Linked DNA regions of Homo sapiens: regions 1 and 2 are each linked to region 3. The links are contacts of gene promoters, found by promoter capture Hi-C in human tissues and cell types (Jung and others, 2019). All regions are on one chromosome and are shown on one strand. The core of a region is centred on a gene start or on the middle of the fragment in contact, and the rest is flanking DNA. Distances in the headings are between cores, read along the strand shown.

Region 1 (3,826 bases), core at 506-3,005, 410 kb after region 3:
GAGCCAGCCTTGAGGATCCTTTCCCAAAATCCTCCACAGCCCTGCCCCACATCTCATCAGGACTTGGGTCACTTCTGGGTCTCCTAAATGTACCACATGCACTATGTTCTCCTATCCACCCCCTCTGGTAGACAGGAGGGAATAAACATAATGAAGCATTGTTCTCTTTTTCATATAAATGACAACTCTTCTCCATTTCCACAGAAGAAAAAAAAGGAAGCCAGCTTAAGGGTCAGCCACAGCAATTTAAATAAAATATCAGTAAGGTCTTCCTGGGTGTGAGAGATGGAGGCCTGTGGTGCTTATTCTCAAAGTCAGAGAAGTTCTTCTAGACAAGCCTCAGGTTCCTCGTAACACTGGACATCCAATAAATATTTGAGAATCTGTGTGTTCACCTCTGGAGCCCCTATTGGGCCTGTTTCTAAAACCCTCTGAAGTAAAAAATAAAGCACAAACCCTATGTCCATAGAAACAGGAAGAAGCAAAAGCCTCTACCTTGCCTACCAACCCACCACCTCTGTGCTAACAGCCTGGGCCAAATCCACTGGGGCATGTGAGTACCTGTGTGTTACAAAGCTGGGCAGAAGACATCCTTGGCGAGGAAAGGAAGCGCTGCCCCAGTTGTGGTGGCACACAGCCAGGGACCTGCTGGCCCTGGGGCATTAGGATTCCAGAGCTGGTGGTGGTTGAGGTGTAGAAATTGCCAGAGAGGACAGCTCTTCCTTCTTGAGAGGAAGGGGAAATGCCACCATCCCCTGCCTTACCAGGGGGACTCTGAAGGAGGAAACAAACCTTCAAGAACACCCAACTATTTCTTTCTGGGAGCTGTTTAGAGCCGTACTGTTCAATATGGTAGCTACTAGCCATGAGTGGCTATTCAAATTGAAGCTGGCCGGGTGTTATGGCTCATGCCCATAATCCCAACATTTTGGGAGGTCTAGGCAGCAAGATCGCTTGTCTTCCTTTGATGACTGATTTTGAGGTCTCTCTTCTGTGCCTTTGAAAGACCCTATAGAGGATCCTCTACCCTTTGTCCCGCCCATTTTCTTCAAAATCCCAAAACTGTAGCTCTTATTGTTGCTGTAGAAACAGATGCTTGTCAAACATGAAGTTGGTTGGAAGGGCTAGTTTTGGCTGCAGGAATTGCTTTCAGCTCATCTGGGGAGGAGAGAGGAGGAAGAAAGGAGGAGAGAGGGGGCCCCAGGCAAGGGCCCACAGGTCAGGAGTTGCTGTGGTTGCAAAGGTGTTGTTAACACAAGACCAGCCTGGGCAACATAGTGAGACCCCGTCTCTACAAAAAAAATTTTTTTTTAATTAGCCAAGTGTGGTCCCAGCAACTTGGGAGGGGGAGGTGGGAGGATCACTCAAGCCCAAGAGTTCGCTGCAGTGAACTGTGATGGTGCCACTGCACTCTAGCCTGGGTGACAGAGCAAGACCCCGTCTCAGAAAAAATTCCAGTTAAATGGAAACAATGAGGATACTTCTGATTAAATTAAAATCAAATAAAATTTAAGGTTCAGTTCCTACTAAGTTGGATAGCATTATAGACCATTTCTACCCTTGCAAATTGTTCTGTTGGGCAGGTCTGGTCTAGAGGTTCCCTTTCAGTGTGTCCTGGTCCCTCTACCAATGCCTCCTTCAGATGATGCCCCCGCCTACCTGCTGTTGTCTCCCTTCCTCACCCCAGAGTCTGCTTAGACTCCTATCCACACATGCCTTGCCTTGTTCCCTAGGCCTCCAAAAGAGGTGGAGGAGGGGACTGTAGTCACAATTTAATACCCAGCTGGGAGCAGAAGCCAAGACTGAATGGAAACCTACTCCCACCCCAAGGCGTCCCAGGCCTGGGAGAAAGCCCCTCAGTGCCTGCACAATCACACAATGGTTCCTTGTTTCTGCATTCTCTGGGCCAAGCACGAGTAAGACATCTGGAATGCAGTGGCCTGAGGGCTTCCCCAAGCCACCCGCTGCAGGACTTATCTGATGTTAGTACTCCTATAGAATCAGAAGTCCCAACAGAATCCTGAACTTTCAACAGCAAATAAGGCCAATGAAGCCTCATCCAGGGCATGCCAGGATTTCTGCCATGGAGCAGTGAGGCCCATAACTGGACACCTCCCTGTGTCACCAACTAGATGAAGCAAAGGAGGAGTAGGAAGGGGAGGACACGGTGGAGAATGGACTCTGGACATATCTGACATGCTGGAGAGGAGGCTCAGAGAAGCCCCCCAGCCCCGCATCCACAGAAGAGCAAAGGAACAGATTGGCGGGTCTGACCACTGTTGTGTTCCGTCACAGAGACTTCACTGGAGAGGTTTTGCTGCAGTAAAAATCACAAGTGGGAGAGTCTAGGCATGCTCATATGGGTGGTGGAAGGAGCAGAGGACAGACTCTGGAACTGGCAGGTCAGGACTGTCTTTCTGTTTTATGCCTCAATTCCTGCTTAGTCCTAATCTAAATGGGCTGTCAGGAGCAAGACAGGTGTGAAGAAACAAAATAAATTGTAGAAAGACCAAAAAGTAGGGTGAGTTTGTTCAAATGGAAAACAAATAGGTAGAAAGACACCTGGTACTCCAGAGGTCTTGCCATCAGCTAAGAATCTGACTGGAGGGAGTCACAGAGAAAGCAGCCCAATTTTAAAAACTGGAATCAAACTTCAGACCAGATTGGAAACTCAGGCCAAAGCAATCCCTCGCTAAGATTACTGTGCAGCCCTGAGTAAGCTTAGGCCTGTTCCCCATCTCTACCTGAAAGGCACTTTGGGCATAAGCATCAGCGTGGGGACAAGAATAAAGCAGTTCTCCAACACTCCCCGTGAGCAGAGCTGAGCCATTAACAGGAACAGCACCTGTGACATTCCTGCGGGTACCAAGCTACCAGGCACCAGTGCTTCCTGACGTACCAGAGACAGATTAATGAGGATGATGATAATGTTCACTTCTTCTTTTTTTTTTAAACAGGATCTCATTCTGTCACTCAGGTTGGAGTGCAGTGGTGTGATCATGGCTCACTGCAGCCTCAAACTCCTGGGCTCAAGCGATCCTCCTGCTTCAGCCTCCTAAGTAGCTAGGACAGGCATGCACCACCACACTGGGCTAATATTTTTACTTTTTGTACAAAGTAGCACTATCTTTCGCAGGCTGGTCTTGAACTCCTAGCCTCAAGAGATCTTCCCATTTCAGCCTCCCAAAGCACTGGGATTACAGGTGTGAACCACCATGCCTGGCCAATGCTCACTGACTCTAGGCACTATTTTGAGGCACTGCTCTAAGTGGTTTATATGTATTGATTCATTTAATCCTCAAGACAACCTTACAAGGAAAGTACTATTATTTTGTGTTTGCTTGTTTGTTTGAGACAGGGTCTTGCTCTGACACCCAGGATGGACTGCAGTGGTGCAATCACGGCTCACTGCAGCAAACTCCTGGGCTCAAGCAATCCTCTCACCTCAGCCTCTTGAGTAACTGGGACTACAGGCACACACCACCATGCCCAGCTAATTTTTGTATCTTTAATAGAGATGGGGTCTCACCATGTTGTCTGGGCTTGTCTCACTATGTTGCCCAGGCTAGTCTTGAACTCCTGGGCTCAAGTGATCCTCCTGCCTCAACCTTCCAAAGTGTTGGGGTTACAGGCATGAACAACCACACTGGACTAAAACTACTATGATTATTCTCATTTCATAGATGACGAAAATGAGGCACAGAGGAATTAAATAATTTGCCCAAGGTCACTCAGCCAGTAGGCAGCATGGCCAGGATTCAGACCCAAGCAGTCTGGCTCCAGAGGCCAAGCTGTAGCCAATACTTAGCAATGTGTTAACAACACC
Region 2 (3,847 bases), core at 191-2,690, 340 kb after region 3:
TGTTTGGCCGAATAAATTAAACCAATTAGAGGGGGCTGCTGGGTGCTTCTGGTGAGGGGCCAGGCTTGGGGAAGGGGCCTTGGGGGAGCTGGAGAAGGGAGGGAGAGATGTTACTTTTTCTACCCAGTCTACCTGCTGTCTCTGGGAGAGGATGAGGAAGGGTGTGTCCTGGAGGATCAGGATGGGCTTGATCAGGGGGTTGGGATTCTATGTTGTGGGGGCAGCAGGGATATGGCTTTGTGGGGGGTGAGGGGGGAGCGAGGGCTCTTCTTTCTCCCTGCTGCCACACTGGCCAGTAGGAAAGAGATGGGCAAGGGGAAGCTCTGGATTCCAGGGGTAGCTGTCTGTATGATCAGAGGACTATGACTGGCTAGAAAACAGGGGAGTACATTCCCCCAGTGGATGGGTATTAGGAGGAAAGAAGTGGGGGCAGTGAAGAGATTAGAGGAAGGAGAGAATGGGCAGAAAAAGACAGAAATGTGCCTGTAACTGGGTCAAGAATCAGTGGAACTGGTGCCTCTTCTGCTGCTATTCACGGTAAGACGTCAGAGATCCAGAGCTGGCCAGGGCTGTGGGATTAAGAGTCCCCTGTGCCCCATCCCAGTTTTGATTCCAAGGGTCTGAACTATCAGGAAGCTTGATCAACATTTGTTGAATGAATAAGTGGAGGTGACATTTAACTTACATCAAACCAAAGCCTGGAGCCTAATGGGAAAACATTCCCTGGAAAAAATAAGGGCGACGCAGCCCTGGCTAAGAAGAAACTTCCTGTGCCCATGCACATGCCAGAAGCATGCCCGGGCCGCAGTCACAAATGCCAGACAAGAGACACAGGCCTGCCCTCATGGGATCCAGGCGCTACTTGTCCATTCCTTGTGGCACAAGGTGGCTTTTCCTCCCAGCTCAAGGCCATATGCTCACCTGGAACTCTTTAAGCTGCCATCATCAGAAGCTGCCTTGGAAGGTCCCTTGTTTTTTGACAACCAGGACTTGACCCCGTCAACACGGTCCTCCAGCTCCGAGTCCACATCAGAGTCTCCCTCACTGTAGGGATGAGGAGCAGAAAGGTAGACAAGGCATAGGCACCTGCTGCCCACGAGGGGAGCAGATGGGGGTGCAGGGGGTGTCTTGGGCAGGGGGGATGTGGGCAGCATGCACGTCGGTGAGTCGGGAGGGCGGGAATGAGAGAGGTTAGACAGAGCACACCATTCACAAGGAGCCTGTCCCCACTCAGCAGCCACACTGTGTGACAACCACCAAGAAGACCCTCAGGAGCATGGAGGCAGCTCCCAAGCCAGTTATCTGTGACAGGCCACTGACCAATCAAGGGAGAATGACTTAAAGACCATCCACTCATCAATTTCAGCTAAATGGCTCTGAGCTAAAAAGAGGAGCCCTGGGTTCTTCAGTGACTCCTTGAGGCCTACTCTGCTGTTTCTTGTCTGCCATTCCTCAGATTGTGGCTATAGCTGCTGTCAATTTCCATGCCTTTGTTACAAGAGCTGGGCTGCCAGCCACAGAGCAGAAGAGAAGGGCTTCGTAGGATTTGGAGTTAGCTTGAACCTGAAGGTCTCCTTAGTGGATGGCAGCACCAACCTGGGCTCTAGGTTAAGGAGGCCCAGGCCACATCCCAGATCCACCCTGTGGCTTCTCTGGCTCTTAAGAAACAGAGAAAGGAAAAGGGGCGGGGGGCGGGGGGCATCAGCATTTCCAGAGGGACTAGCAACAGTTTCAGTATCTAAATTGTCCCTGGAGACCCAGCTGGGCTCAGAAAGTCCCACACCAGAGCCCTGTCGCTCAAGGTCTCCTCTTCCGTCCTCAGGTAGCCCCCAGCCCTTGCTCACAGTGCTTCATCGGGCAGAGCTGACCTTAGCACTTGAAAGAAAGCCCAAAGGAGTCCAATTCTGAGGCTGGAGTCATGGCCACCCCCTCATGAAGCAGCTGGGCTTGGAGATAGCTTCTGAGTAAGATTGCTTCTAAAATTCTGCAGAATGTCTGCTCACCAAGTTGCCCTGCTATGGATAGGCTAGGGTTTCTCCTCGATATAAATTTCCTTTCCTCTGTGTCAAGAGGAATGGCTCCATTCCTGAATTATGTTCTTAAATAAACAGCCACACAGGCATGTGTGCGCGCGCGCGCACACACACACACACACACACACACACGAAACCAGCAGATTGTTCTGGGGACCATGCGAGAGCCCAACTCATAGAGAGGGGAATAAAGAGGCATGTTTTATGGGCTTCCATCAAATACAGAATTATAACAAAGACGAGGCTGGCTGATGCCCCGGGTAAACAGGAGTTTAGCAGACAACCTCGAAACTGCTAATGCAAGCCCTGTGCCCGTCCGAGCCTGGCAGATTTACTGTGGTGCATGGGCCCCATGGAACACCAATACCACCTGATTTATACACCTGTGCAAAAAACCTCCCTCTCTAGCTTCAGAGCCTGTAATTTATCACCACCGTTCATAACCATATTGATTGCCTTTAGAAAGGAGGTGCTGTATGCATCGCAAAATCTATGTCTACATGTTAAAAGCGTTTCCATATAAATCTCCCTTAATACCGTGCTGTTTACTGCTTTCATTAAGGTTATGGCAATAACAACTGTATCTCTAAGTAAATCGAAACATTATTTCTCTGCCTGCCTTACTGCGCTGGGCTCAATAACTTGGAGCTGGGGCCCAGAGCTGCTGAGGAAGGAGCCACACCACCTCTCTGCCATCAGCCGGAACCTGGTTAGAGCTGCACGTCCCCATGCGTCTATGTGAGCACACACCAGTGTGTGTGAGTGTGTGTGCATGCGTGGTGTACCTGTGTGTGTGCATGCCTGGCAGTGGTTTAGAATATGATCTTAAATGCGCATTTTATCAGCCCTTGAAGCTCTTGCCACACAAGGATGGCAGGGTTGAAACACACAGGGGACAGACAGTTGTGGGCCCAGAATATGAATTTTCCTCCTTACATACAGAACAGTGGATGGGTTGCAAAGCTGGCCTGCCTGCCCTCGCCTTCCCTTTAGTTGCAAGCATCTAGAAGATGTTCTTTTCCTTAAATAATCAGGCCCGTAAACAAACTCCAGGGGCAGGCAGGCTCAGAGGGCAGTTGAAATTTTAAATGGTTGGAATTAAACCTCACGTCAAATACAATTTATGTCCGGGCTCATGTGCTATTAGTTAACGGGGAGCCGAATCACGGGGGAACAAACAAACGGAGACAGAACGGCGGGGGATATTAATTGTGTGTGACAACCAGGCTCCAGCGGCCCTCTATCACTGTTACACACTATTACATTTATCATTAGCTCTCACTGAGTCCTGTGCGCTGCCACCAGCCCATCCTGGCCAGGGGAGGGGGTCCATCAGGCGAGAGAGAGTGGGGGAAGAAACCCAATGCCATGCTAAAAAAAAAAGACCTCTAAAAAACAACCCTGTCGAACTTGATGGAGGATCAGCCCGCTCTGCCTGAAGGCCTGCGCATCTGCATCCGCTGTCCAGCTCCCACCCAGAAAGCGGGAAAAGAGAGGGCTGGATTTCCTGGGCTTCCTGCCACCTGACAGTACCAGCACAAGCGCCCGCTGGGGCCTCCCTCTGCCCACGGTACCGCAGGGAGTAAAGTAAACACATCTGGCTGTGTTCCCTTCCCCCGCCACGGCAAGCAGCCCATGATTAGCTGCCTGAATGCTTTCTCCAAACAAGAAACTGGGAGATGCCCCTCACCTTCTACCCTTGTCTGCCAAGAGAAGGTAGTGGACCTTTAAAGATGAAACACGCCCGCTTCTTTCAGGCAGCTCAGGCTCCCAAGGAGCCCAAGGATGTGGACAGATCCAGCCCAAACAGACTT
Region 3 (3,614 bases), core at 919-3,418:
TCTTTCTGGCCTAACAGGGTCCAGAATCCAGGGCCCAGTGGGAGTGGGAGGTGGGTGATGATTTCTGGAGGCACTGCCCTCAGAAGCTGCAAGGGTTTCTCTTCGGTACCCTCCAGCGGTCACAGATGAGCCGGTCCCCCCCTGAGGCACCCGGATTCACCTCTGGACCACCCTGATATTGCTTCTCCTCTGAATGCTCTGAAAAGTGCAGGTGCCCAAGGCATGACTTGCAGCTGTCTCCTGGATTGTGTCATCATGGGGTATCAGGGCTGGCAAAACCCCTGCTCTGCTTTTGGCCTTGGATATGGAAACCTCAACCACTTTGTTCTCCTACCACCTCTTTGCCCTTCCTACCCCTTCCTCCCTTCAGTCAGTGTCCCCAGGGTCCAGCCTGGCTAGAGTTAGAAGGCAGACCTAGCCTTTGGAAGCAGGGTGGCCTCCAGAGCCTTGCCATAAAAAGGCTGAAGGCAGCCGGGCGCAGTGGCTCACGCCTGTAATCCCAGCACTTTGGGAGGCTGAGGCGGGCGGATCACGAGGTCAGGAGATCGAGACCATCCTGGCTAACGTGGTGAAACCCCATCTCTACTAAAAATACAAAAAAATTAGCTGGGCGTGGTGGCACGCGCCTGTAGTCCCAGCTGCTCAGGAGGCTGAGGCAGGAGAATGGCGTAAACCCCTCCAGCCTGGGCGACAGAACCAGACTCCGTCTCAAAAAAAAAAAAAAAACAAAAAAGGCTGAAGGCAGCTGTAGCTCCACACAGACCCTACCCTTTCCCCTAGCCCAGTTAGAAAATAAGTCTGGGCCGGCGGCGGTGGCTCACACCTGCATAGGCAGTGCTTTGGCCAGGAGGATCCCTTGATCCCTTGTGGCCAGGAGTTGGGAGACCAGCCTGGGGACCATAGCGAGACCGCTGTCTCCACCAAAAAAAAAAAAAAAGAAGAAAATAAGGCTGGGTGCGGTGGCTCACGCCTGTAATTCCAGCACTTTGGGAGGCCAAGGCGGGCGGATCACTTGAGGTCAGTAGACTGAGGCCAGCCTGGCCAACATGGTGAAACCCCGTCTCTACTAAAAATACAAAAATTAACCAGGCATGGTGACGGGCGCCTGTAATCCCAGCTACTCTGGAGGCTAAGGCAAGAGAATCCCTTGAACCCGGGAGGTGAAGTTTGCAGTGAGCCGAGATCGCACCACTGCACTCCAGCCTGGATGACAGAGCAAGTCTCCCTCTCAAAAAAAAAAAAAAAAAAAAAAAAAAAAAAGTATTTGGTGCTTACCGGGACTCTATCTCCATACTTTGGAGCAGGGCAAGCCAGGGCCTGCCTGGACTGGCCATTAGGCCTGCCTAGCTTCTGCATAGCCCGGGGCTGGGCGGTCCCCGGGAGTGCTGCCACCTCCCCTACACTTTCATCCTGAGGCAGGATTTGCTAGACGTCGGCTTGCCTCTCTTCCCCAGCAGGAGGGCAGGAGTCACTAAGTGCTGCAGAAAAGATCCGCGCTGGAGATTGCCCGTCCCCCCCATGCCTTTCCCCAGAAACAGTTGAGAGAATGGGTAGCTGGTGGGACCAGACCGGTTTCCCAGAGGACAGGAAGGCCAATAAAAATATCAGCTGCCTGCCTGGAGTGTGGTGTCTTCAAGGGTGGGGGTGGCGACCAGGCACCCCAGGACTGGGCTGGGCCCGACCTCGGTGGCAGGGCTGCGGCCAAGGGAGGAATGTGGGCGCAGCCGGAGGCTGGGGCCGAGGTTCCTCTGGCCCAGCGCCCAGTCCAGCCTCCCCGCCCCAGCTGGGCTCCCCGGAGCTGGTTGCCAGGCTTCGGCTGCCTAGCACCTGGAAGCTGGGGCCACGGTTCCTGGGCTGCTCACGGCCCCGGAGGCCGAGCTGTTGCCTCTGGAGAAGAAAACCTTTGTGGCGCGGCCCGTCCCCTTTTCCGACCCGCACTTCCCCGGGGCCCGCGGGCTCTGGGGAGAAGCGGAGCCACGATCTCTGTCCCCCAGGGGAAAGAAAAGCCCATGATCCCGTGGGTGGGCGAGACTGGCGGTCACCAGACCCAAAAACCATGCACTCGGGGGTGGGCGGGGCCGCGAGGGCGCGCATTAGGACCGCGCGGCCGCGGTCCGCCCTCTCTTCCGGAGGGCGGGCTTCACAGCCGAGCCCTGGCCGCGACCGCCAGTCGGCGCCGCCCGGAGCCGGGAGCGCCGCTCCAGCGAGGCGCGGGCTGTGGGGCCGCCGCGTGCCTGGCCCCGCTCGCCCGTGCCGGCCGCTCGCCCGCCATGCCTGGCTTCGACTACAAGTTCCTGGAGAAGCCCAAGCGACGGCTGCTGTGCCCACTGTGCGGGAAGCCCATGCGCGAGCCTGTGCAGGTTTCCACCTGCGGCCACCGTTTCTGCGATACCTGCCTGCAGGAGTTCCTCAGGTGCTGGCCGGGGAGCAGGGGACAGCGGGGGCGGGGCGGGGCGGGGGGCGCCGCCTGGGGAGGGTCTCGGGCCCGGGGCAAGGCGGGCCTTTGTCTGCGCTGCGACCCTGTGACCTCAGGGGCGCCCCGTGACGTCACGGGGAGGGATGACGTCAAGCCCCGAGGGAGGCCCCCCCCGCAGGAATCCGAGGGGTCCGGGCGGGTCCCAACTGCCCGGCCCGGGGCGGAAGACCTCGGCGCCTTCTCGTGGGGTCAGGAGGGGAAGAGGCCCTTCCCCGTCACCTGAGAGCCGGCGCGGCCTCAGCCTTGAACTTTGAATCCTGGGGGAAGAGGACAAAACCCGCTCCCGCGTGGCAGTTTGAGCCTCCGGAGCTTTCCCCCATCTAACCTCTTCTGATTCTTCGAACGTTCAGAGAACGGTAGCTATTGTTCTCCCATTTCACAGATCATGAAACGAGATTCAAAGAAAGGCTGCGACTTGCCCAGGGTCACATAGTTACTTAAAGGCTTAACTAGGATTTAAACCCGGACTGCTTATGATCACACAATGGAGGAAGGACTGAATCCTCCCCCGAAGAAGGACCCCTCTAGGCGGCTCCCCTCTCTCCCGGGGGCTGGAGTAAGGCGGGTGGTCCATAAGTCATGAAGAAGGGGGTCGCACTCGTGTTGTTACTGAACTCCCGCTGCCCTCTCAGGACGCAGGTTAGCCCTTGGCTCTTGGGCATCCATCAAGTTTCTGGGCGCCCTGTATGTCTTGAATCTCCTGCTCACGCAGGGAACCCCTCAGGCCCGGGTGTGGGAAGCAGGGTGAAGGAGCCCCGACTCTTCGGAGGTCATGCCCCCAGAGCGCAGGGGAAGGCCGAGTCGGCCACTGCCTGGCTGTTTGCTGGGACGAGGGGATCGAGGGCCTGGCAGGGATAGTACCTCTGAGACGCCTGCCTCCGGTGCTCCCTCCCGCCGTGCCTCCCTCCCTCGCTCGGTCCTCCGTAGCTCCTACTGGCGGAAATCTCAGCAGGCCCTTTGTTTTCTGTTCCCCACAGCCTGGGCCGGCTCCTGCCCTCACATATGCTCCGGCACAAGCTGCAGGACTGCCCCCTCCCCCTCGGCAGTGTACACATTTACTCTCCTACAGACACAGCCCCATTGTCTCCGCCACTGCTCTTCCCCGGCCCTCTGGGTTCCAGATGAGGCCAGCTGAGCC

Evidence for each region. Contacts are between HindIII fragments. The study calls those that stand out against the background at their distance.
Region 1: a contact is called between a fragment that was not itself captured here and the fragment with the promoter of TRAF4 in region 3, in 1 of the 25 tissues and cell types used here (dorsolateral prefrontal cortex).
Region 2: a contact is called between a fragment that was not itself captured here and the fragment with the promoter of TRAF4 in region 3, in 1 of the 25 tissues and cell types used here (spleen).

What each region holds. Positions count from the first base shown.
Region 1 is chr17:29,149,790-29,153,615 of GRCh38, forward strand. The region is part of intron 2 of MYO18A (myosin XVIIIA); the gene reads right to left. The region is part of intron 1 of LOC124903967 (a long non-coding RNA gene); the gene reads left to right. Among named protein-coding and RNA genes, the nearest start is that of MYO18A, 29 kb to the right of the region's middle. RefSeq lists enhancers at 1-36, 57-106. The HindIII fragment of the contact is 7,800 bases long and covers 1-3,826 here.
Region 2 is chr17:29,081,395-29,085,241 of GRCh38, forward strand. MYO18A (myosin XVIIIA) reads right to left here. Exons shown (of 42, transcript NM_078471.4): 41 at 922-1,044. Among named protein-coding and RNA genes, the nearest start is that of PIPOX, 40 kb to the left of the region's middle. The HindIII fragment of the contact is 3,628 bases long and covers 1-3,254 here.
Region 3 is chr17:28,741,843-28,745,456 of GRCh38, forward strand. It overlaps TRAF4 (TNF receptor associated factor 4), which reads left to right and starts at 2,169. Exons shown (of 7, transcript NM_004295.4): 1 at 2,169-2,413. The coding sequence starts at 2,271. NEK8 (NIMA related kinase 8) reads left to right here. Exons shown (of 15, transcript NM_178170.3): 15 at 117-1,613. The coding sequence ends at 145. RefSeq lists enhancers at 1-109, 1,245-2,245, 1,269-1,563 and silencers at 1,269-1,563, 2,018-2,427, 2,448-2,647. The HindIII fragment of the contact is 18,595 bases long and covers 1-3,614 here.